7 separate regions of the Homo sapiens genome follow, and regions 2, 3, 4, 5, 6 and 7 are each linked to region 1. The links are contacts of gene promoters, found by promoter capture Hi-C in blood cells and fetal thymus (Javierre and others, 2016). All regions are on one chromosome and are shown on one strand. Each heading gives the region's core, a stretch centred on a gene start or on the middle of the fragment in contact. The rest is flanking DNA. Distances are from core to core; before and after follow the strand shown. Region 1 holds the start of PLA2R1 (phospholipase A2 receptor 1). Region 2 has its middle 100 kb from the start of TANK-AS1. Region 3 has its middle 120 kb from the start of TANK-AS1. Region 4 has its middle 140 kb from the start of TANK-AS1. Region 5 has its middle 160 kb from the start of TANK-AS1. Region 6 has its middle 200 kb from the start of TANK-AS1. Region 7 has its middle 220 kb from the start of TANK-AS1.

What was found. Contacts are between HindIII fragments. The CHiCAGO score rates a contact against its expected background, and 5 or more counts as called.
Region 2: a fragment that was not itself captured here is called in contact with the fragment with the promoter of PLA2R1 in region 1 in 1 of 17 cell types (M2 macrophages); the score reaches 5.2 in M2 macrophages.
Region 3: a contact is called between a fragment that was not itself captured here and the fragment with the promoter of PLA2R1 in region 1, in 1 of 17 cell types (M2 macrophages). The highest score is 5.1, in M2 macrophages.
Region 4: a contact is called between a fragment that was not itself captured here and the fragment with the promoter of PLA2R1 in region 1, in 2 of 17 cell types (M2 macrophages and M1 macrophages). The highest score is 6.0, in M2 macrophages.
Region 5: a contact is called between a fragment that was not itself captured here and the fragment with the promoter of PLA2R1 in region 1, in 1 of 17 cell types (M2 macrophages). The highest score is 6.6, in M2 macrophages.
Region 6: a contact is called between a fragment that was not itself captured here and the fragment with the promoter of PLA2R1 in region 1, in 2 of 17 cell types (M0 macrophages and M2 macrophages). The highest score is 5.4, in M0 macrophages.
Region 7: a contact is called between a fragment that was not itself captured here and the fragment with the promoter of PLA2R1 in region 1, in 1 of 17 cell types (M2 macrophages). The highest score is 6.6, in M2 macrophages.

Annotation. Positions count from the first base shown.
Region 1 is chr2:160,061,021-160,064,385 of GRCh38, reverse strand. It overlaps PLA2R1 (phospholipase A2 receptor 1), which reads left to right and starts at 1,771. Exons shown (of 30, transcript NM_007366.5): 1 at 1,771-2,091. The coding sequence starts at 1,983. The HindIII fragment of the contact is 10,793 bases long and covers 1-3,365 here.
Region 2 is chr2:161,055,918-161,059,282 of GRCh38, reverse strand. No RefSeq gene overlaps it. Among named protein-coding and RNA genes, the nearest start is that of TANK-AS1, 100 kb to the left of the region's middle. The HindIII fragment of the contact is 3,661 bases long and covers 1-3,365 here.
Region 3 is chr2:161,039,347-161,042,711 of GRCh38, reverse strand. No RefSeq gene overlaps it. Among named protein-coding and RNA genes, the nearest start is that of TANK-AS1, 120 kb to the left of the region's middle. RefSeq lists an enhancer at 2,571-2,740. The HindIII fragment of the contact is 476 bases long and covers 1,442-1,917 here.
Region 4 is chr2:161,013,735-161,017,099 of GRCh38, reverse strand. No RefSeq gene overlaps it. Among named protein-coding and RNA genes, the nearest start is that of TANK-AS1, 140 kb to the left of the region's middle. The HindIII fragment of the contact is 6,228 bases long and covers 1-3,365 here.
Region 5 is chr2:160,996,502-160,999,866 of GRCh38, reverse strand. No RefSeq gene overlaps it. Among named protein-coding and RNA genes, the nearest start is that of TANK-AS1, 160 kb to the left of the region's middle. The HindIII fragment of the contact is 3,574 bases long and covers 1-3,365 here.
Region 6 is chr2:160,962,125-160,965,489 of GRCh38, reverse strand. No RefSeq gene overlaps it. Among named protein-coding and RNA genes, the nearest start is that of TANK-AS1, 200 kb to the left of the region's middle. The HindIII fragment of the contact is 656 bases long and covers 1,380-2,035 here.
Region 7 is chr2:160,943,009-160,946,373 of GRCh38, reverse strand. No RefSeq gene overlaps it. Among named protein-coding and RNA genes, the nearest start is that of TANK-AS1, 220 kb to the left of the region's middle. The HindIII fragment of the contact is 667 bases long and covers 1,165-1,831 here.

The DNA of each region.
Region 1 (3,365 bases), core at 522-3,021:
GTCCCAGCAACTGTCCTCATTCGTCAGGGTGCCCCAGTGGCTGCCTTTATTTCAGCCAGGCATGCCTCACTCTCTCCCATACAAGCAGTTCTCACTCCAACCTTTGTATAATTTTTTTTTTCACAATTTCTTCCCATCCTAGAACAGCCTCTTCCTCCCAATACCCACCATACTATCTGAGCATAGTTAGGCCTCTATGCCCACTCCAGCCTAGTCTCTCTCCCCTTTACTCTCACTGCCCTGGACCTCACCAGAGATTAGCATCAGTGTCCTGTTTTATGACCTAATTATGTCATGTGCATTGCACTTGCCTGCTGCAATACATGCCAGCCTGCTCGGGCAGGGCCAAATCTTCTATCATAATACTACGGGGATATTCCCATAGCAATGTAGTTCTGAGGCCATAGGAGAGATGGATACATAGTTTGTGGCTGAAGTCTGTGTAATCTACTAGGCTTAAAGCATCTCTTTTCTGCATGTTTTCAAGCAAGGATGCTGAATTCTACATGTAATGATATGTTATAAACTCTACACACATTGGAACCTCTCACATCCTCTCAACCCACCTCTTATTCCAGCCCCCTCTGCAGCCTGTTTCCCCCGGCTGTCCCCCACCCCCCAACCCTCTGAGAAACAACCTGACAGCGCCTCACCTTTTGCCATGCTATGCACCCAGGGCTTCTAAGAGACAAGGTATGGGACCATGACTGAAACTCACCACTGCTGTAGAACAGTGCAGAGGAGTTAATAACCCTAGGATCTCCCTTACCAACAGGGAAGGATAAAGTCCATGGATAAACGCTTGCCCCTTTTGTCCTCGACAGACAGTTCTGAGGCTCTCTGAGGTTCCTGCAGGACTGAGCACCTTTTGTTAAGGCCATGGCCAAGGCAACCACTTTCCCTTCTTCCCCATTTGGCTCTGACCTTCAATCTTGCTCCCTGCTAGGCATTTCCTTCCAGGCTCTGCTTTCTGCCCCTCCCCTCCCCCTCTCTTATGTTTTAATGACTAATGTCAAGGTCCCGCTGAGGAAAGGTCTTATATGAGCCTGTTCTCAGAATATTAAACGCTTCCAGTGTTCTGCTGGTTATTTGAAGGAGGACAGTTAGAACGACTACATTCTAGCCAGGGCTGTCCTACTTGCTAGAGAGTAACTTTTGCTGGATTAGGAAGTAACCTAGAGCAAAGCACTTCGACTTTCTGGGCAGGGTTTCTCAGCTGTAAAAATGGGATAATAGGGACCCCGGCTACTTTGCGGGGCTTGGGGGATCAAAGGAGTTGGAAAGAGGAGGTTATTTCAAAACCGAAGGAGCTGAATAGAAGAATCTCCGGGTTACTCTGGGGCAAGGAAGGTGGAGACCACGGCGTGGCCCCTCAGGTGTCTCCAGTGCTCCACAAGTCAAAGGAGTCCAGGACCCTCCCAAAGCGCCTGCGTCGCGGAGCAGCTGGGTTCACTCTAGGCTGCCCGCTGCAAATCCGCGGTGTTTACCAGAATCCAGGTGGTTTGCAAACCCGGATGTCAGGCTCCTTGTCCCGGAGATTCTCAAATCGCTCACCCACAACTCCTCTTCGGCCTCCCCCAGAAAGGAGAGAGCAGGGCTGCAAGCTAGAGGAGCGGAGAGTGTGACCCGAGCAGCCTCACTCCGCCTGTCCCCACCCCAAAGGCAGGAATTTCTGGGATGGGCAGATGGCCCACCCCTCCTCCTCCTCCTTCCCCAAGCCGCAGTGGGTGGGGCGAGGAAAACCTCCGCGACTTTCCCGCATCCCAGCCCAGAGCCCCGAGTGTCGGTTCACTGTGGAGACAGCGGTGGCGGAGTGGGTCTCCAGGGCTCTGGGCTGGCAAGGCCCCCGGAGGGGGTGGGGCGCGGAGGAGGCTACGGATCCGCTTCCGCGCGGCGGGGCCGGGTGCTTGGGACGCGGCTCTGGGCTCCCGGGATAAGGGGCTCCCGGGACAAGGGGCTCCCGGAGAGCCCAGTGGTTAGCGATGCTGCTGTCGCCGTCGCTGCTGCTGCTGCTGCTGCTGGGGGCGCCGCGGGGCTGCGCCGAGGGTGTGGCGGCGGCGCTTACCCCCGAGCGGCTCCTGGAGTGGCAGGGTGAGTCTCCCAGGGTCGGGGACTGGATCGGTACGTTGGGGAGGGGGGTCGGGGTGGTCGAAGGAGAGGAAGAAGGGGCGAAGCTAGGGGCCAAGCTGGCGGGCAAGGGCGGCCGCGTTTGTAGGGGTTCGTGTGTCAGCAGTCCTGAGCATGGGGGGAGCGGGTGGTGTCCTGCAGCCTCTTGTCTAGGCCCAGCACCCCACTTGCGCGGCCCGGCACCCTCCTGGCTCCTGCGGGGGTCGGGCGGCGGGGGCGGGGGGGCTTGGTCTCGCAGGTAACTCCTCTCGGCTCTGGCGCCCGGAGCCAGCCCGGGATAGGAGTGTCGGAGAAGTTTCAAAACGGAAACTTTCTGAGAGCTGCTTATTTGGGACGGATAAATGATAGCAAAAAGATGGCTCAGTTCGTCCCCTTGCAAAGCAAGCGCTCAGGGTCTGCGTCGCCACCTAGGAGTGACCCCCAAGCCAGGCCTCCCCAGTCCATCCCTTCCTTAAGGAAAACTTTTTTTGTTTGTTTGTTTTTTGAGACAGGGTCTTGCTCTGTCGCCCAGGCTGTAGTGTAATGGCGGGATCTCGGCTCACTGCAGCCTCCGCCTCCCGGGGTCAAGCGATCCTCCCACCTCAGCCTCCCGAGTAGCTGGGACCACAGGTGTGCGCCCGCACGCCCAGCAAAATTTTTGTATTTTTGGTGGAGACGGAGTTTCACCATGTTGCCCAGGCTGGTCTCCAACTCCTGGGCCCAAGTGATCCGCCCACCTCGTCCTCCCAAAGTTCTGGGATTACAGGCCTGACCCACCGCACCCCGCCTGAAAACATCAGGCCAGGTGAGGGAGAGAAGCCCCAGTGGCTCCATGAACTGCGTGATCTGAAGCCTTTATGCCTTAGTCTCTCTCAGTGGAAAAACGGGGTTCAATTCAGCAAACACTTATTGAGCACCTACTACACATGAGACTCAGAAGGTTGTGTAAAGAGAGGGAGGAGAGATTTCTGGCCTGCAGGGGCCCGCATTTGAGAATGGGCCACCTCAGGCAGAGAAGCCTGCGCCTAAGTGCAGAAGTCCATATATGCAAGTAGGAGGGGGACAGGAGGGAGTTAAATATGCCAGGAGGAGCCTCCAGACAGCCTCCATCCTCTCTGCCTTTGGAGATAAGTTTGGAGAGAAGGGGTAACACAAGATGTGATCAATATCTGCGTTCACATTTTTTCCTCCACAGTAGAATATGTCTACATTTTTGAGGTAGTCTTTTCTAGACTGTGTTTCCTAAGCTCCCTGGAGGC
Region 2 (3,365 bases), core at 522-3,021, 990 kb before region 1:
GTAGATGGAGTCAGGGTGGGTCACAGTTCAGTGCCAGCTGGAGCCCAGGTCATAATAGCCTCATGGAAAATTCCTTGGAGTTAGGGTTTTATCTGGAGACTGATGTAGTAGCTGCTTCTTTATTCCTGGTCACCCAAGTGTTCTCTGATTTATCCTTAATACCTAAAAGAGCCACCAAGATAAGTGTTGTTCCCTGGGAGAAGGATTCCTAGAGCTAAGTGTTCTTGGTTTCTGTGTCTAAACCAGAGTCAAGTCTGCCCTTGGCATGTTGAACGTCTGTGGAATCTGATTCCTCTTAGGAGAATGCACACCCTGACCCCTTCCTGAAGGAGTCAGTAACATTTTTTAAGCCTTTACTATGATCTAGGCACTCTTAAGTATTTTCTATAGGCCTAGAATTCTATGACATTCTGTATATATTGTTGCCATTTTACTGTTATGGAAATTGAGGCTCATCAAGGTAAAGTAACTCCCCCAAAGTCACATAATCAATATGAAGCAGAGCTTGGCTTGAACCTAGGTCTGCTGGACTGCAAAGTCTGCAACTACTCCATGGAACAGAAAGAGAAATTCCTGCAACGGGATCATGATTAGATAGATTATTTATACCATAAAGGACCTTTTTTTCATATATACACACAGAATGCCTCTAAATAGTGAAATCTATTAGTAAGTTTCAAATGTCTGATTTTGAAAAGATCAAGGTATGCTACTTTACAGCAAAGTGCATTATTGCATAAAGCAAGCTACAACTTGCAACTTTTGTATGTCTGTTTTCTTGGCAATGTTCAATAATGTTGTATTCTTCACTTAATTACTTCCTGTTTTTTTTAGGTTGCTTTATCCTTAATTTCTCCACATTATCATATTAATTACGCTTTTCAAATGTGATAATACCTTTTCATATATTCTCAAGGAAATGCTCTTTTTACCACTGGGCTATTTTGCTCTAGAAACAGAGATAACAAGCTGGGCACAGTGGTTCACGCCTGTAATCCCAGCACTTTGGGAGGCTGAGGCAGGTGAATTACCTGAGGTTAGGAGTTTGAGACCAGCCTAACCAACATGGAGAAACCTTGTTTCTATTAAAAATACAAAATCAGCTGGGAGTGGTGGTGCATGCCTGTAATTCCAGCTACTCGGGAGGCAGAGACAGGAGAATCGCTTGAACCCAGGATGCGGAGGTTGTGGTGAGCCGAGATCGCACCATTGCACTCCAGCCTGGGCAACAAGAGTGAAACTCCATCTCAAAAAAAAAAAAAAAACCCCACAAAAATAGAGATAACACAACTAATCTTCAATTCAAGAAGAGGCTTTGGATACTGGGAAGAAAAAGCAGCAACTCCAAAATAATGTTACCACCAACTCTTGCCCTCCTCCTCTACTTCACAGCAGCCTCCTCTGCTGGTGGCATTGCTGGCAAGAGCTTCTGCTGGCCCCCGCCCCACTGTGAAGCCTAATTGTGTTAAGCCCATTAATGATCCATTTGTTTCTTCTCCTCCTGCTTCCACAAAAGGAAATGTATTATTCATGGATAACCTTTCTCCCCTCTCCCTTTGTGTTTTAGCAATACTCTAGACCATCTGAATTTCATATTGTTGCACAGACTGTGATATTGGCTGTTTCAGTGTCTCTGTTGTGAAATTACTCCATTGTCATCAGACATTAACAGGGTTCAAGTAAACATTTGGGTAGCAGCTCCTTGTTTCACTTAGAACTCCAGCCATCCTTCCTAATGGCTCTCAACTGGCCCACTTCAGCAGAAAGTTGGTCGAATCTCCATTCTATTCTCTTGGGGAGACGCCACTTGCTTCTTGTGTATCTAACAAATATCCTACCAGCTACTGAAACCTCCTCTGGAGGTACAGGAGTTGTGATCACATTTTTTCTCCATGTTATCTTTGATCATCAACACCAACAAAATAAAGCTGTGTCCTAAGAGCTATAGCTCTATCTTTAATTGGTTGGGCCTATTCTACAGCACTTCAGGACCAGGGTCTTTGGGGGATAGGACTCTGTGCTTTTGTATACCAATAAAACCCTGTTTAAAGTGGTTGCTCTGACAAACATATGAAAAGAGCTCAACATCACTGATCATTAGAGAAATGCAAATCAAAACTATAGTGAGATACCATCTCATGCCAGTGGAACGGAAATTATTAAAAAGTCAAGAAACAGATGCTGGTGAGACTGTGAAGTAATAGGAATGCTTTCACACTGTTGGTGGGAGTTTAAATTAGTTCAACCATTGTGAAAGACAGTGTGGCAATTCCTCAAGGATCTAGAACCAGAAATACCATTTGACCCAGCAATCCCATTATTGGGTATATACCCAAAGGAATATAAATCATTCTATTATAAAGATACATGGACACATATGTTCATTGCAGTACTATTCACAATAGCAAAGACATGGAATCAACCCAAATGCCCATCAGTGATAGACTGGATAAAGAAAATGTGTTACTTATTCACCATGGAATACTATGCAGCCACAAAAAGGAATGAGATCATGTCTTTTGCAGAAACATGGATGTTAGAAGCAGATAATCGGTGTCACCAAGAAAAGTCAGCATGGAGACAAAGGATCTCTCAGCAAGGCAACCTTTACTTTCTGCAGAAAGGGTGCTGCTTGCCAGCAGTCTTGCCACGAGAGCACACTGAACAAAGAGGATAAAAATATTTATATCTGACACATCCGTACCCTACTGCTGTGTCCTGATTCCATTGGCTGGAATTGGACCTCACAGTCTAGGCTGCTCCCGATTGGCTAAAGGTTTAAAACTTTTCCTAAAGAGATAATGGCAGAGAAGAACAAAGGAAAGGAGGAAGTTTCTTATGAAAAGACTTAGAAAAGTAATAACATTCCCAAATAAGGAAGGGGCATAGGCTGCGAGCTGGGACATGCTTGTGAGCACATCTAGCACAGATATCTTGGTTAAAGTACAAGGTCATAGAATGTACTATGTGCCTGTGAGCATGTCTAGCATAAAGTTAGTCTTTAAAAGAAACTATTATTTCTAACACTTATGACTTATTCTTTAACAAGAAGAGAAACAGTAAAAAGGAACTTTTACTTTCTGCAAAGAAGAAGCTGGAAGCCATTATCCTCAGCAAACTAATACAGGGACAGAACACCAAAACCGCACATTCTCACTTATAAGCAGGAGCTGAACAATGAGAACGCATAGACACAGGGAGGGGAAAAATACACACTGGGGCCTGTTGTAGGGGCTGGGGGGAGAGGAAGAGTATTACAATAAATAGCTAATTCATGCAGGGCTTAATACCTAGGTGATGGGTTGATAGGTGCAGCAAGCCACCATGGCACATGTTTACCTCTGTAACAAACCTGCACGTCCTGC
Region 3 (3,365 bases), core at 430-2,929, 980 kb before region 1:
CTGGCAGAATTTAAGTGCCTTGGGTCCAGGCTTGTTTGATGGATTGATTCATTCATTCATCACTCATCATGTATTCGTGCAGCACTGAGTGGCACAGTGTGGTGTAAAGGACACAAGCTTTAGAGTCAAGACTTGGGTTTGCATCCAAGCTCTCTTACTAGTTTTATGATCTTGGTAAAATTACTTCACCTTTATGAGCTTCCATACTGACATCTGTGAACATAGGTGGTTGCAATGATTACAGAAGAATGAAGAGGTGAAATGCCTGCACAGTGCATATTCCTTTTAGATAGGAGGTGCTCTACTTCCCTCCTACTTTGCACACTGGCATCCCATGGAACAGACTGACAGTCTTTACTCTTTAGAGAGTTTGCAATCTAAATGAGGAATATGTAAAAAGGAATAATTATAACATTACGATTTGGCAAGAGCCATCCTGGTCTTATTAAAAAATGAGTCTGTGGATAGTTTGAGTGAAAACAGTGAGTAAAAACCAGGGTTCAAGAAGAGATTCTAAACAAAACATGATTGGCAGCCAACCTTAACTTCTGATACTGGAGCTGCCTTTGCCAGTGCTTTCTTCATCAATGCCTAAGTTGTAGTGAGACCACAAAAGCGAAATCTCTCATACCTGCTTGCTGATCAAGGGGATTATGTTCAGTTATATGTGAGTTGTACTAGATTAAGTATTAGTAAAGAGTTTCTTTTCTCAACTTCTCCTAAATAGATTAAGTGGTTTATTAATGTGCTTTTAATTCCATTATCTTTAACATTTTTCATTCAAAATGTATGTAATAGATTGGGAGTGCTGGGGGATGTACCCAGCCCCCACAGGCAGATTTGTTACCACCCCATCTGCCATCCCAAATGCTAAATCCCAGGAACACCACTGCTTTGCAGTATGTTCTATTTTATAAGACTTTGAGGAAAGAGAAACACAGAAAGACAGTGACAATCACTGCAGGGTTAGAGAGACAGAGAGCATAAGGTTAGAGCTAAAACTTCTAAAAAGCAAATGGAGTGTTGGAAAAAAGGAACAGAGGGAAGAATTGAATACATTTACCAGGGAATTAATGAATAGGCTAAAGGTATTTATGCAGGCAGAGAGCATATGGAAAAGGGGGAAATGAATCATGGAAGAAGGCAGCAAGTCTTATCACACGAGTTTTTTCATCTTGAGAAGTGTGTGTGTGTGTGTGTGTCTGTACACAAGCTAACGTGTGTGTGTGATTGGAAGGAGAAACAGTTACTAAGTCCAGTCCATACCACAGGAGAGAGGAAAAAAGTATCTACCATGAGGTTGTCATGATGGTTAATGTGTTCTGAAGTGTTACATCTGAGCTATACCTTGTAGAGGACTTCTGTAGTAACTATAAAGAGAAAGCCATAGAGCAAGGGGAAGGGCTGTGGAGAGCTGAGATCTGGATGAATACGGTAAGCTTCTCCACTTGCTGGCACTTTTATTGCCCCCTCCTCCTTCCTGGTTTCAAGACTTGCTGTCATACCAAGTGATTGGTTTTGCCAGGGCCCTTACAGGTATTGGTGTCTCCTGTAAGAATGACTGTAGAGAAATGGGAGGCTTGGAGAGATTGGGGGATTTTGAAAGACTATGGGTTTGAAAACTTCTGCAACTTGGGGCTGTAGAAATAGGGAGGGGAAGACAAACTTATTCCTAAGTGTTTCTGATGAAGAATATCTTGGCCGGATGTGGTGTCTCATGCCTATAATCCTAACCCTTTGGGAGGCTGAGGAGGGTGAACACCTTCACCTCAGGTGTTTGAGACCAGTCTGGGCAGCATAGCAAAACCGCATCTACAAAAAGTACAAAAATCAGCTAGGTGTGGTGGTGCATGCCTGTAGTGTCAGCAACTCGGGAGGCTGAGGCAGGAGGATCGCTTGAGCTCAGGAGGTTAAGCTTTCAGTGAGCCAAGATTGCACCACTGCACTCCAGCCTGGGCAACAGAGCGAGACCCTGCCCCCCTACCCCTCCAAACACACACACACACAGAATATCTTGCCTCATTAAATATAATTGTAACATTGGGGACAGGGTTCAGGAGAGTATGTGGTACAAGTGAGCGTGGGAAGCAATTAAGCACATGGGAGGAGCCTGAGAATAATGCAGACAAAAAAATGTCAAATAGGACTCAGAGCAGTTGAAAAAAATGGCTGAACCTGGATGATATAAGAAAAGGCTCTAAGAAGGTGGGTGTTTCTGAGGCCAGAGGATGGCCAGCAATGGAACTGCCCTGCCAGTCTACAGTGGAGCCACCTGAAGTGAGAGCTGAGCGGCCAGCACAAGGCCAGGAGTCATGGCAGTGACATCTGTCCTAAACCCATGGGCTAGGCTTGGGTTGTGCCTGCAGGGACAGGGCCTGGAATTGAGTTCTCCCGCAGGGTGATCTCTATACAGATGTCTGACTGAGGCCTGTGTACTGGCACTATGCTCCCTGCTCAAAGCTCGTATGTGGAAATTATAATCCAGCAGATTATTTTTGAAATCTTGAAAAATCTCCTGATCATAATAAGTTCCTAGCTAAAAACCTCCAGATAGACAGGAAAGCACAATTTCAAAAAAGAGCTTACATCTAAGGAAGTAAAAAAAGGTAATTTTATAAAATCAAAAATGTAAATGCATTTAATAACCTCAAAGAGATAAAGAGGTGAAAGTATCTATACATAGACATATAGATAGCTATATAGATATATAAAAATATGATGTTATAAATCAAGAATGGGTTATTATGAAAAAGAACCACTTAGAAATAATGGCAATAAAAAATAAGGTTGTTGATATAACAAGACTCGACATAGTGAACTAGACATAACTTAGACATAACTGAAGAGTCAATTAGTGAATCATAAAATTGTGTTGAAATATTAATTTTATCTGATATTAATTGAGTAATTATTTTGTGCCCAACATTATTCTAAGCATTTAATATGTATAATTTCATTTAATCCTTGCAAGAATGATATAAAGTAGGTTCTCTTTTCATTCCCAATTTATTGATTAGGAAATTAAGGCCAAGAGGATAAGTAATTTGCCAAAAGTCACACAACTAGTCTTAAATCTAAAAAGAGCCCTTGTGTTTAACCATCGCACTATAACACTAACTCCCAAGATTTCTCAAGATGCAGCACAAATAATTAAAGAGATAGAAACTAAAGGAGGAAAAGTTAAGAGGGGATAAATTCCAGAGATAATGAATAAAAATCTGTATTTTAACAAATCCACGGGTGATTTATAAGCATTTTAAAGATCGAGAGCTTTGTTCATTCCCAAGTGTGTTTTCTTAAGATAGTAATGAACAAAGCTCTTCTCTCATCCTCTATTGGATGCTTCTCTGAACAGTGACTCGGAT
Region 4 (3,365 bases), core at 543-3,042, 950 kb before region 1:
GCCGTGTATGCTTATAAAGTATTGGGCTTCTGGGAGGCGCCTGGTCCTGAAGAAATGCACTACACTGGTACCACTGTGAGACACAGTCCTGCTTGATTCCTGGGCACAGCACCTTTTCACATTGGTACCCACTAGAGTGCTCAAGTTCCATTTATCTCAGATCATCAGCCTAGACCAGCAATTCTTAAACTTTTTGGTCTCAAGACTTGTTTACACTCTTAAAAATTATTGAAACCCCAATAATTTGTTTTTATGTGTTATATCTATCAATATTTATCATGTTGGAAGTTAAAACAGAGAATTTTAAAATATTTATTACTTTAAATACAAAAACTATTATGTGCTAACATAAATCACATATTGTTTATGAAAATATATTTTGCAAAATAAAAATTAATGTTGAGTAGATTTAAAAATTTCTCCCAGTGTCTTTCTATTAAGCCAATATTTGGCTTAATAGAAAATAGATTATCATATCTGTTTCTGCATTCAAACTCTTGTGATATGCTGTTTCGGTTGAAGCATATAAAGATAGTCTGGCCTCATACAGATGTGCAGTTGGAAAATAGAAAAATATTTAATAGCATTTTCAGATACTGTCCATATTCTCCTCAATACTATCCCAAAACTCAACAAGTGGTAGTTTCTTTTTTTTTTTTTTAATTACACTTTAAGTTCTGGGATACATGTGCAGAACTTGCAGGTTTTTTACATAGGTATACACGTGCCATGGTGGTTTGCTGCACCCATCAACCCATCATCTACATTAGGTATTTCTCCTAATGCTATCCTTCCCCTAGCTCCTCATCCCCCAACAGGGCCTGGTACATGATGTTCCTCTCCCTGTGCCCATGTGTTCTCATAGTTCAACTCCCACTTATGAGTGAGAACATGAGATGTTTGGTTTTCTGTTCTTGTGTTAGTTTGCTGAGAATGATGGTTTCCAGCATCATCCATGTCCTTGCAAAGGACATGAACTCATCCTTTTTTATAGCTGCATAGTATTCCATGGTTTATACGTGCCACATTTTTTTTAATCCAGTCTATCATTGATGGCATTTGGGTTCGTTCCAAGTCTTTGCTATTGTGAAGAGTGCTGCAATAAACATACGTGTGCATGTGTCTTTATACTAGAATGATTTATAATCCTTTCAGTATATAACCAGTTGTGGGATTGCTGGGTCAAATGGTATTTCTAGCTCTAGATCCTTGAGGAATCACCACACTGTTTTCCACAATGGTTGAACTAATTTACACTCCCACCAACAGTGTAAAACTGTTTCTATTTTTCCACATCCTCTCCATCATCTGTTGCTTCCTGACTTTTCAATGATCGCCATTCTAACTAGTGTGAGATGGTATCTCATTGTGGTTTTGATTTGCATTTCTCTAATGACCAGTGATGATGAGCTTTTTTTCATGTTTGTTGGCTGCATAAATGTCTTCTTTTGAAAAATGTCTGTTCATATCTTTCGACCAGTTTTTGATGGGGTCGTTTGTTTTTTTTCTTGTAAATTTCTTTAAGTTCTTTGTAGACTCTCGATATTAGCCGTTTGTCAGATGGATAGATTGCAAAAATTTTTTCCGATTCTGTAGGTTGCCTTTTCACACGGATGATAGTTTCTTTTGCTGCGCAGCTCTTTAGTTTAATTAGATCTTATTTGTCAATTTTGGTTTTTGTTGCCATTGCTTTTGGTGTTTTAGTCATGAAGTCTTTGCCCATGCCTATGTCCTGAATGGTATCGCCTAGGTTTTCTTTTAGGGTTTTTATGGTTTCAGGTGTTAAGTTTAAGTCTTTAATCCATCTTGAGTTAATTTTTGTAGAAGGTGTAAGGAAGGGATCTAGTTTCAGCTTTCTGCATATGGCTAGTGAGTTTTCCCAGCACCATTTATTAAATAGGGAATCCTTTCCCTGTTCCTTGTTTTTCTCAGGTTTGTCAAAGATCAGATGGTTGTAGATGTGTGGCATTATTTCTGAGGCCTCTGTTCTGTTCCGTTGGTCTATATCTCTGTTTTGGTACCAGTACCATGCTGTTTTGGTTACTGTAGCTTTGTAGTATGGTTTGAAGTCAGATAGCATGATGCCTCCAGCTTTGTTCTTTTTGCTTAGGAATGTCTTGGCTATGTGAGCTCTATTTTGGTTCCATATGAAATTTAAAGTAGTTTTTCCAATTCTGTGAAGAAAGTCAATGGTAGCTTGATGGGAATAGCATTGAACCTATAAATTACTTTGGGCAGTATCACCATTTTCCCAATATTGATTCTTCCTATCTATGAGCATGGAATGTTTTTCCACTTGTTTGTGTCCCTCTCTTATTTCCTTAAGCAGTGGTTTGTAGTTCTCCTTAAAGAGGTCCTTCACATCGCTTGTAAGTTGGATTCCTAGGTATTTTATTCTCTTTGTAGCAGTTGTGAATGGGAGTTCACTCATGATTTGGCTTTCTGTTTGTCTGTTATTGGTGTATAGGGATGCTTGTGATTTTTGCACATTGATTTTATATCCTGAGACTTTGCTGAAGTTGCTTATCAGCTGAAGGAGATTTTGGGCTGAGACGATGGGGTTTTCTAAATATACAATCTGTCATCTGCAAACAGAGTCAATTTGACTTCCTCTTTTCCTAATTGAGTACCCTTTATTTCTTTCTCTTGCCTGATTGCCCTGGCCAGAACTTCCAATACTATGTTGAATAGGAGTGGTGAGAAAAGACATCTTGTCTTGTGCCTGTTTTCAAAGGGAATACTTCCAGCTTTTGCCCATTCAGTATGATATTGGAGATGGGTTTGTCATAAATGGCTCTTATTATTTTGAGATATGTACCATCAATACCTAGTTTATTGAGAGTTTTTAACAGGAAGGGCTGTTGAATTTTGTCAAATGCCTTTTTCTGCATCTGTTGAGATAATCATGTGGTTTTTATTGTTGGTTCTGTTTATGTGATGGATTACATTTATTGATTTGTGTATATTGGACCAGCCTTGCATCCCAGGGATGAAGCCAACTTGATCGTGGTGGATAAACTTTTTGATGTGCTGGTGGATTTGGTTTGCCAGTATTTTATTGAGGATTTTTGCATCGATGTCCATCAGGGATATTGGCTGAAATTTTTTTTTTGTTGTGTCTCTGCCAGGCTTTGGTATCAGGATGATGCTGGCCTTTTAAAATGAGTTAGGGAAGAGTCCCTCTCTTTCTATTGTTTGGAATAGTTTCAGAAGGAATGGTACCAGCTCCTCTTTGTACCTCTGGTAGAATTCGGCTGTGAATCCGTCTGGTCCCGGACTTTTTTTGATTGGTAGGCTATTAATTGCTTCCTCAATTTCAGAACTTGTTATTGTTCTATTCAGAGATTCAACTTCTTCATGATTTA
Region 5 (3,365 bases), core at 537-3,036, 940 kb before region 1:
ATCCACCATGATCAAGTGGGCTTCATCCCTGGGATGCAAGGCTGGTTCAATATATGCAAATCAATAAATGTAATCCAGCATATAAACAGAACCAAAGACAAAAACCACATGATTATCTCAGTAGATGCAGAAAAGGCCTTTGACAAAATTCAACAACCTTCATGCTAAAAACTCTCAATAAATTAGGTATTGATGGGATGTATCTCAAAATAATAAGAGCTATCTATGACAAACCCACAGCCAATATCATACTGAATGGGCAAAAACTGGAAGCATTCCCTTTGAAAACTGGCACAAGACAGAGATGCCCTCTCTCACCACTCCTATTCAACATAGTGTTGGAAGTTCTGGCCAGGGCAATTAGGCAGGAGAAGGAAATAAAGGGTATTCAATTAGGAAAAGAGAAAGTCAAATTGTCCCTGTTTGCAGACGACATGATTGTATATCTAGAAAACCCCATTGTCTCAGCCCAAAATCTCCTTAAGCTGATAAGCAACTTCAGCAAAGTCTCAGGATACAAAATCAATGTGCAAAAATCACAAGCATTCTTATACACCAATAACAGACAAACAGAGAGCCAAATCATGAGTGAACTCCCATTCACAGTTGCTTCAAAGAGAATAAAATACCTAGGAATCCAACTTACAAGGGATATGAAGGACCTCTTCAAGGAGAACTACAAACCGCTGCTCAATGAAATAAAAGAGGATACAAACAAATGGAAGAACATTCCATGCTCATGGGTAGGAAGAATCAATATCATGAAAATGGCCATACGGCCCAAGGTAATTTATAGATTCAATGCCATCCCCATCAAGCTACCAATGACTTTCTTCACAGAATTGGAAAAAACTACTTTAAAGTTCATATGGAACCAAAAAGGAGCCCGCATCGCCAAGTCAATCCTAAGCCAAAAGAACAAAGCTGGAGGCATCACCCTACCTGACTTCAAACTATACTACAAGGCTATAGTAACCAAAAGAGCATGGTACTGGTACCAAAACAGAGATATAGATCAATGGAACAGAACAGAGCCCTCAGAAATAACGCTGCATATCTACAACTATCTGATCTTTGACAAACCTGAGAAAAACAAGCAATGGGGAAAGGATTCCCTATTTAATAAATGGTGCTGGGAAAACTGGCTAGCCATATGTAGAAAGCTGAAACTGGATCCCTTCCTTACACCTTATACAAAAATTAATTCAAGATGGATTAAAGACTTAAATGTTAGACCTAAAACCATAAAAACCATAGAAGAAAACCTAGGCAATACCATTCAGGACCTAGGCATGGGCAAGGACTTCATGTCTAAAACACCAAAAGCAATGGCAACAAAAGCCAAAATTGACAAATGGGATCTAATTAAACTAAAGAGCTTCTGCGCAGCAAAAGAAACTACCATCAGAGTGAACAGACACCTACAAAATGGGAGAAAATTTTCGCAACCTGCTCATCTGACAAAGGGCTAATATCCAGAATCTACAATGAACTCAAACAAATTTACAAGAAAAAAACAAAAAACCCCATCAAAAAGTGGGCAAAGGATATGAACAGACACTTCTCAAAAGAAGACATTTATGCAGCCAAAAGACACATGAAAAGATGGTCATCATCACTGGCCATCAGAGAAATGCAAATCAAAACCACAATGATATACCATCTCACACCAGTTAGAATGGCAATCATTAAAAAGTCAGAAAACAACAGGTGCTGGAGAGGATGTGGAGAAATAGGAACACTTTTACACTGTTGGTGGGACTGTAAACTAGTTCAACCATTGTGGAAATCAGTGTGGCGATTTCTCAGGGATCTAGAACTAGAAATACCATTTGACCCAGCCATCCCATTACTGGGTATATACCCAAAGGACCATAAATCATGCTGCTATAAAGACACATGCACACATATGTTTATTGCGGCACTATTCACAATAGCAAAGACTTGGAACCAACTCAAATGTCCAACAATGATAGATTTGATTAAGAAAATGTGGCACATATACACCATGGAATACTATGCAGCCATAAAAAATGATGAGTTCATGTCCTTTGTAGGGACATGGATGAAATTGGAAATCATCATTCTCAGTAAACTATTGCAAGGGCGAAAAACCAAACACCGCATGTTCTCACTCATAGATGGGAATTGAACAATGAGAACACATGGACACAGGAAGGGGAACATCACACTCTGGGGACTGTTTTGGGGTGGGGGGAGGGGGGAGGGATAGCATTAGGAGATATACCTAATGCTAAATGACAAGTTAATGGATGCAGCACACCAGCATGGCACATGTATACATATGTAACTAACCTGCACATTGTGCACATGTACCCTAAAACTTAAAGTATAATAATAATAAAAATATTAAAAAAGACAAATAATTAAATAATTTAAATATTTTTTAAAAAACAGAAATAGACAAATTTGCCACTGTTTTCAAGTTTTCTTTTCTTTTTTCTTCCTTTTTTTTTTTTTGAGATGGAGTCTCACTCTGTCACCCAGGCTGGAGTGCAGTGGCACAGTCTCTGCTCACTGCAACCTCCACCTCCCAGGTTCAAAAGATTGTATATGCCTCAGCCACCTGAGTAGCTGGCATTACAGATGCATGCCACCACGCCTGGCTAATTTTTGTGTTTTTAGTAGAGACAGGGTTTCACCATGTTGGCCAGGCTGGTCTTGAACCCCTGGCTTCAAGTCATCTGCCTGTCTCAGCCTCCCAAAGTGCTGGAATTACAAGCATGAGCCACTGCCCCTGGCTTTTTTCAAGTTTCTAAATATTAACTTTTTATGGAGAGACTGTTTAACTCTGTCATGAAAACTATTTCACCTCTGTACAATGTAGAAGTAACCTGTAAACAAATCACTAATGGTATTCTTGTTTAACATTTAAAATAAGTTTTCTCTAAAATGGATAATCCTATAACAATAGTATCAATGACTATTTCTAAGCCTTCCCATGCAAGGTGCTATGCAAAATGCTTCATATGAATTATCTAATAGATCTGCATGAGGACAAATATTGAACTTCTATTAAAAATAAAGACATTGAAAACCAAAGTGTTTAGAATGCTGATAAGGCAAAATGATTTACTTTGTGCAGTTACCTTAGATAGAAAAAAATACCACAAAATAGCCAAATAAAATAAATGCAAATGGAAAGACACACACAGCTCACTACAGAGAGCACTGGTTATCAGCATCTTTCACTTAGTTCCATGAAGATATTTTTATTGACTGTCACGCATGGCTTAATGACAGGGATGGGTTCTAAGAGATGTGTTGTTTGGCAATTTCGTCATTGTGTGAACATCATAGAGTGTGCTTAACACAAGCATAGATGGTGTAGTCTGTTACACACC
Region 6 (3,365 bases), core at 458-2,957, 900 kb before region 1:
GCTGCCCATGAACTCTAGTAGATAAATTGTTTTGTGTATAGCACATATTCAAGGCTGGGCTTGGATAATGATGTCCTGCTCAAATTAATAAAAAAAAAAGAAAAAGAAACATTGTCCAACACACAAGAACTCTTCTTTACCTTTTTACAATCTGGGTATGTTGGGAGAGGAAGAAAAATATTCATAAATAAGAGCACCAAAATACCACAGTAACCATGGTGGAAGCTACATTGACCTTTTGGCTGATTTTCATAATCATTTTATATCCTTGTCTGTGTCTCCTAGTGGTTTATAAGCATATGGTTTCTTAGACATGTATAAATTAAGATTAGTTTATTTTAATATTTTTGGTTCCAGAAATATGCTAAACTTGTGACAAATTTACTTCGTAATGCACCAAATCTTCTTTTCGATTTTATATATGCTTCTAATGCTTTTTAAATGAGAGGCAGAATGTGGTATAGTGGTTAAAGGCTTAGGATCTGATATGAGATCCACATTCAAATCTTGGCTTCACCATTTGGCAACTATGAGACCTTAGGGGGTTTCTTAACTTCTTTGTACCTGACTTTTCTCATCTATAAAGTGAGAATAATAATTAATCATCACATAGGGCTATTGTGAGGATTAAGGGCATTATTTTTATAAAACAAATAGAACAGTGCCTGGAGGATACTACTAACTACATGAACTATTAATCAGTATTTTCAAAAGGAAATATTATAACAAAGCGGATTTACTGGAAAAAATGCCAAAACATGTCTTGTTTTATACCACACTCTCGATTGACAGAAGTCTCAGAAAGTGAAATTTTAGCTCCAGAATACTATGATTTCAGCAGATGAATAGTGTGGGCATCAAATGTATAGTTTTAATGAATGTGAACCTCAAAGAGAGGAGCTGTAAATCTAAATGGCAATACAGGGGAGAATTGCCCATCTCAACAGGTGAGCATCTAAAGGTGAGCTTCATCCTACTATAAAGGGAGAGGAGTGGCTTTGGGGCAAAATTCCCATCAGAGTACCTTGCTTAAATAAACCCTATTATTTCATTTTCTCAGTTCAGACTTGGCCTCCCCTTACCCAGAGCAAAAATGACATAAAAATTATATATCTAGGAAAACCAAAATTTAAAAATCGTTGGCCTTACAATGCCTACTCCTGATTCAGAATGGTAAGATTAGGGAAAGTGTCATTGAAACTGGGTTATTCCATCTGCTGATGCCAAGTATGTTTAGAGAGCTTTAACCTGGCTTGATTATTGATAATGGGACCTGAGCGGGGGAGCTTCCAAACCAAAACGTTAGCATTGTTGCATAATAAATATCCAGAAAGGAAGTTGAGATCATCACAGTTAGGAAAAGCTTGCTGATGTAAGCTTTAGAGAGAAACAGGTCAACTGGAATTTCTTTTGGAAAGAATTGTCTTCAGAGCTTTAGAAATGCTATTAGATGGTCATTTTTTTCAATGCTCCCAAATTTGCTTAAAGAAATTAGGAACTCACAGATTGACCTAGCTAATGTTTATGAAACACTTCTGAGTGCTGAGCCCTGTGTTATACACCTTATATGTTATTTTGTGTAATCCTTTTGTAATCTTAATTAATACTTTCCACTTTAAAGCTGAGGAAGCTGAGTTTCAGACACATGGCTGATAAATAAGTAAAGCTGGGATTCAAACCCAGGTTGTCCAATTGAAGTCCATGTGCTGTTAGTCTTAAGCACTCTATTCTCTTCATGAGCTCACATAAAGTGTAAAAATGAGAGTTGATAGGTATCTATACAGCTTCATCATCAATTCTAAGACCTAAGAAATAATTATGCTGTGAGATTTCCATAGATATTAATAATAATGCCAACAATTGGACTAAACTTTACAACACTGGGAAATCATAGTTTCTTCTCACAATTACTAAGATCAATTTTCTTCTGTTGAAGAAGTGGGCAAATTGCACAGATAAAGCTAGTCCTGAATGGAATTGTTCCAGTAATATTAAGGCTCAATAGTAGCACCTGGAGAAATAGCACAGCAAAGCTTCTGCTGACGCTGGGCACTGCACTGACCTGATATTTGAAACTGTGAGCTTCACAGTCTGCTTAATAATTAAAGCAATTTATCTTCAGGTGAATCTAGGCCATTTTGTTATTTCAACATGAAATTCTTGGGGAATAGAGATGCCTATAGAGAATCTCTGTTGTGTAAACACTAATATGGAAAGTAAGTAGGTAACTCTTTGAAATGCTGTCAACTATACGGCCACTAGAACTTTGGCCACTATCGGAACTAATGCCACTACAACTGGCTGGAAAAGACTTAGACATTGGCAGCAAGGTAACTTACCAGAGGGTTGCCATCACCTTGCAGAACATACAGTGCAGATGAAAAAATGGTTATACAAGTCTTTATCCTGTTCCAAAGGCCAAATTATTAAGAAACAAATAAGATACAATGATGACTTCAAAGGCTAAAGAATTCTGAAATTATATGGGATGCCATTTGAAGACAGGTTTGTTCTGTCCAATTTGATAGACACTAGCCAGTAGCATGTTGGCTACTGGGCAATTGAAATGCAGCTAGTCCAAATTGAAATGATCTGCAAGTGTAAAATATATACCAGATTTGAAGACTCAGCATGGAAAAAGAATGTAAAATATCTCGATAATTTAAAAATATTGAGTGTGTGTTGAAATATTTTTTATATATTGGTTTAAATAAAATATATTAGTACATGTATTTTACCTGTTTCTTGTAGTTTTTTTAATGTGACTACTATAAAATTTAAATTGCATATGTAGCTCACATTGTATTTCTGTTGGGCAGTGACAGTAGGTACTCCACACCAGCAACAGGTGAGGAATGAAGATAGCTTTGTCCTGCATCATGGACAGTGAAGGACTCTGAAGGAGTCAGGTGGAATATTTTGGTGGCCTCATCATCTCTAGTGGAGTTTTAAAAATTTTATTAATTTCTGCTATTATCTTTATTACATCCTTTCTTCTACTTTGCATTTATTCTTTTCGTCTCCCAGTCTTCAGTGGAATTCTTAGCTCATTTATTTTTTATCTTTCTTGTTAGGTAAATTCACTTAAGGCTAAAGTATTGCTTTAGAAATATGCCCACATTTTTAGCATATAGAGCACTATTATTGTTGTATAGTTTCAGGGTTTTGTTTTGTTTTGTTTTTGAGATGGGCTTTTGCTATGTTGCCCAGGCTGGGCTCAAGTGATCCTCCCACTTCAGCCTCCTGAGTAGCTGGGACTACAGACACTTGCCACCACATCTGGCTAAGTTTGTTTTTTTAAAATAATTTCCTCATTGTGATTTCCTCTTTGATTAGCAGGTTACTTTTATGATATAGATATGTAA
Region 7 (3,365 bases), core at 249-2,748, 880 kb before region 1:
CATGATAGCAAATTGCTTTTGATCCTGGTTTTATTGTATTGACAACCTCAGCTGGCATGACCATGAAGAAGCAAGACAAAAAACAAACAGGAGGAAAAATCTGGGGATTCTTTTTAGAGATGGAATACATACTTACAAATAAAATGCCTCAATGGAAGAAACATTACCGTATCTGACATGGTATATGTGATTGTGGATGCCATTTGGTTATGTTAACTTTGGTCCACTATCATTCATGATGATCCTTCTAGTTTTTGCAAGGGCCAAATAGGTGAATTGAATGAGGCTATCCCTTCATCCTTCAAGTCTTTGGTGGTGGTGCTAATTTCTGCAATTTCTCTTGAGATGTAGGATTGCAGTTTGGGGAACTTCCCATGTCTCTTCCAAACCCACAGTGGCTCTTATTTCAGTGGCCAAGGAACCAATCTTGATTGTACTGAGGGACTGGGCAAATAACCACACAGGTGGCCTGCGGCCCCATTGGACGACTATGAGATGGACATGGGCCAGGATTCTATTCATCACCTGGCTTCTACATGCCTCTTTCTAATGAAGGGTCACAATAGCATTTTCAATTCCTTGCTTTTAGAGCCAACTCAGACTCTGAGTCTAAAAGTCCTTGCATGGTCTGGGTATTTTTGTTTCCCCAGTGTATATCTGATATTCTGGTAAATAGCTTCAAGTTCCTTTGGGAAAGGATCAGGAGATATTTATTTTAAATTTTTGCAGTGGTGTTGCAGGATATTGCCAAATGGACCTAGTCTCTTTGATAGTCACTGAGCTCTGGATCAGAGACTGAGCTCTGTGTCTGGGAACTGACTTAGATCTAGTAAATGGGTGAGAGAGTGTGATTTCCCATTGGGGCGACAGACACCAGTTTTTTGCTTTCCAGATCTCTCCTGCTGGCTCTATAGATGAAGTGAAACTCTAGTTGGCTGCCCATCTGTCTTGCTCCCATGATTTATTAACAACTGCTACCGATTCCTATGGGTCAAAGCTCTCAGGTCATCACTCTGGCCTCACTGTTTATTTCAGAAATTATGACCACCCTATTTCTGTGAAGACAAATTAGCCTCTCCTATTTGAGAATCCTATCAATTCCATTGATACCAGGGAGACTGGTTCTAACATAGCACTTCCCACTGTCAACAACACAACCAAGCTTCTCCACAATGGTGGTGCTCCCCTCACTCTGCATTCTTCATTGACTGATTGTAGGAGTGTTCTTTGGACTCCCTCAGGCAACAGAGTCAGGTGGTGGGTACTTTGATGTAACACAGTAAACCCATTCCAACATTTCCACCTCCCTGAGCCCTTCAAGCCCTTCCCCAAAACCCTGCCAAGGCCTGACTTACCTAATTACTTTGATAAGGACAAAGCTATAAGGAACAATTTTAGCAGTGTATTAGGACCAGTTCTATGTGTCTTTGCTAAGATGTTGAACCCCATGTCACGGGAGAGTGTTCTAACATCAATACATTCTCCCTTCTCCAGCCTTATGTGCTAACCTTGTGTTGGGTACTCTAAGATCTACTCCTACACCTGTTCCCCTGGCTTCTCCTGGGTGCATTAACCAGGTCTTAAAATTCTCTGGTTGTACTACTTTCTTCCAAAGCCAGGATCATATACACTTCACAATGGTGCTGTGGCCTAAACATTCCTATCATTATAGCTCTCATTCTATAGGATAGGAAACAATGGAGGGAATCTGCTAATTGTTTAGTATGTATGCTTACAGATTAGATAAATAACTTTCTGTTGGGTCCAGTGTGGAGACAGTGAGGGTAGATGGGAGCAGAACATGACAGGGAGGAGAGTATCTTATGAAGCTTCTTCCTCCGATGAGGTTTTTGCAGTTTCTAGGTCAAGGTTTCTCAACAATGGGACCATTGACATTTGGACTAGATAATTCTTTGTTGTGAGGGGCTATGCTGTACTTATAGGACATTAACAGCATCCTACAATGACCTCTACCTATTAGGTGCCAATAGTACCTCCCTCTCTCAGTGGTGATAACTGTATCTCCCCAGTGTGGACCACTGATTAAATGTTAGAAGAGGGCTCTCTTCCTGCAGCCAGCCTCCTGCAGATGTCTCTTGGGTGATGGCAGAGTTCTCAGGGTGCAGCCGAGGTGAGCTATCATCAGGCTATTCCTGTGCACATCTGGTAGTTATAGCAATAGCTAGAGAAAAAAGGTGGGCTAAGAAGATGTGAGCCAGGGCATAAAATGTCTGTGACACAGAGGTATGTAACACCCACTTCAATTCACAGACGGGAACACTAAGGCTCAGGAAGGTTAAACAACGTAAGTCGAAGCACTGTGCATAAATATATGTAAGACATAATACCTCCCTTTGAGAAATTTTCAGTCCAGCAAATTGTGAAGTATTATATAATAAATAATTGCATGTAAGTGTTGATAAGGTCATACGACCATCAAGTGACAAAGATAAAAATAGAATGAGGTCTATTTGGCTTCCAAATCTGTATTCATTTTAGTGTACAGATATGCCTCAGGATTTCTTATGTATACTGCATACTAGAATTTTTGTTAAATTATTTGCATGCCCGTTATCATTGAACATTTGTAGGGATCTAAATAGTGGGCATTCTCACCCCCCATTTGTCAGATAAGGAAGTGGCCCTTTCTTGTACACCGTCTTATGCCCTAGATGCATTACGCTTAAAGAAGACATTGCTTTGTAGAGAAGGGTGACCTCACACTGATAAAATCAATGTGGACAAGTATGGAAATGCAGGCACAGGATAATGCAATATATTGCTAGAAACAGGAGAACCCAGTGACCAATTCCATTAACTCCATCTTCATCCTTCCACAGTGTGACTAATTAAGATATGGTCTGGTACTGAATAGCTCAACTCCTTTTAAGAGTAGCTTGTGAAACTGTGGAAACTATCTAAAAATATATAACTAATGTGAGACAAATAATGTTGTTACAAGGGAATTGATAACCAAGGATAATGGGAAAAGCAAGAAATAGCAAGTTGGAGCTAATTAGCAGGGAATGCCCCCTGACACTGAGAGTGGCGAGCCAGGATAACGGTCTCCTGAGGGGAGTGGCAGAATCACCATCAGTTAGTACATTTAAAAATAGGCAACAGAGCGCTAGAAACAGAGCTATTGGGAATAATCTTGCATTAGGCAGGAAAGGAGGTAATTGACTAAGTGACCTAATATTAAGAGCTTTCTTTCTCATGAATTTCTAGAATTCTAAAAAAATATATAAAACCTTATAGGCTGTATACAGAAATGTAGGTACCTAATGACTGGAGATGCCTAAATATAGCCTCAAATTATTCATAAATGCAAAATGAGAGCAGCCGTGCCCCAGATGGAGCATAAT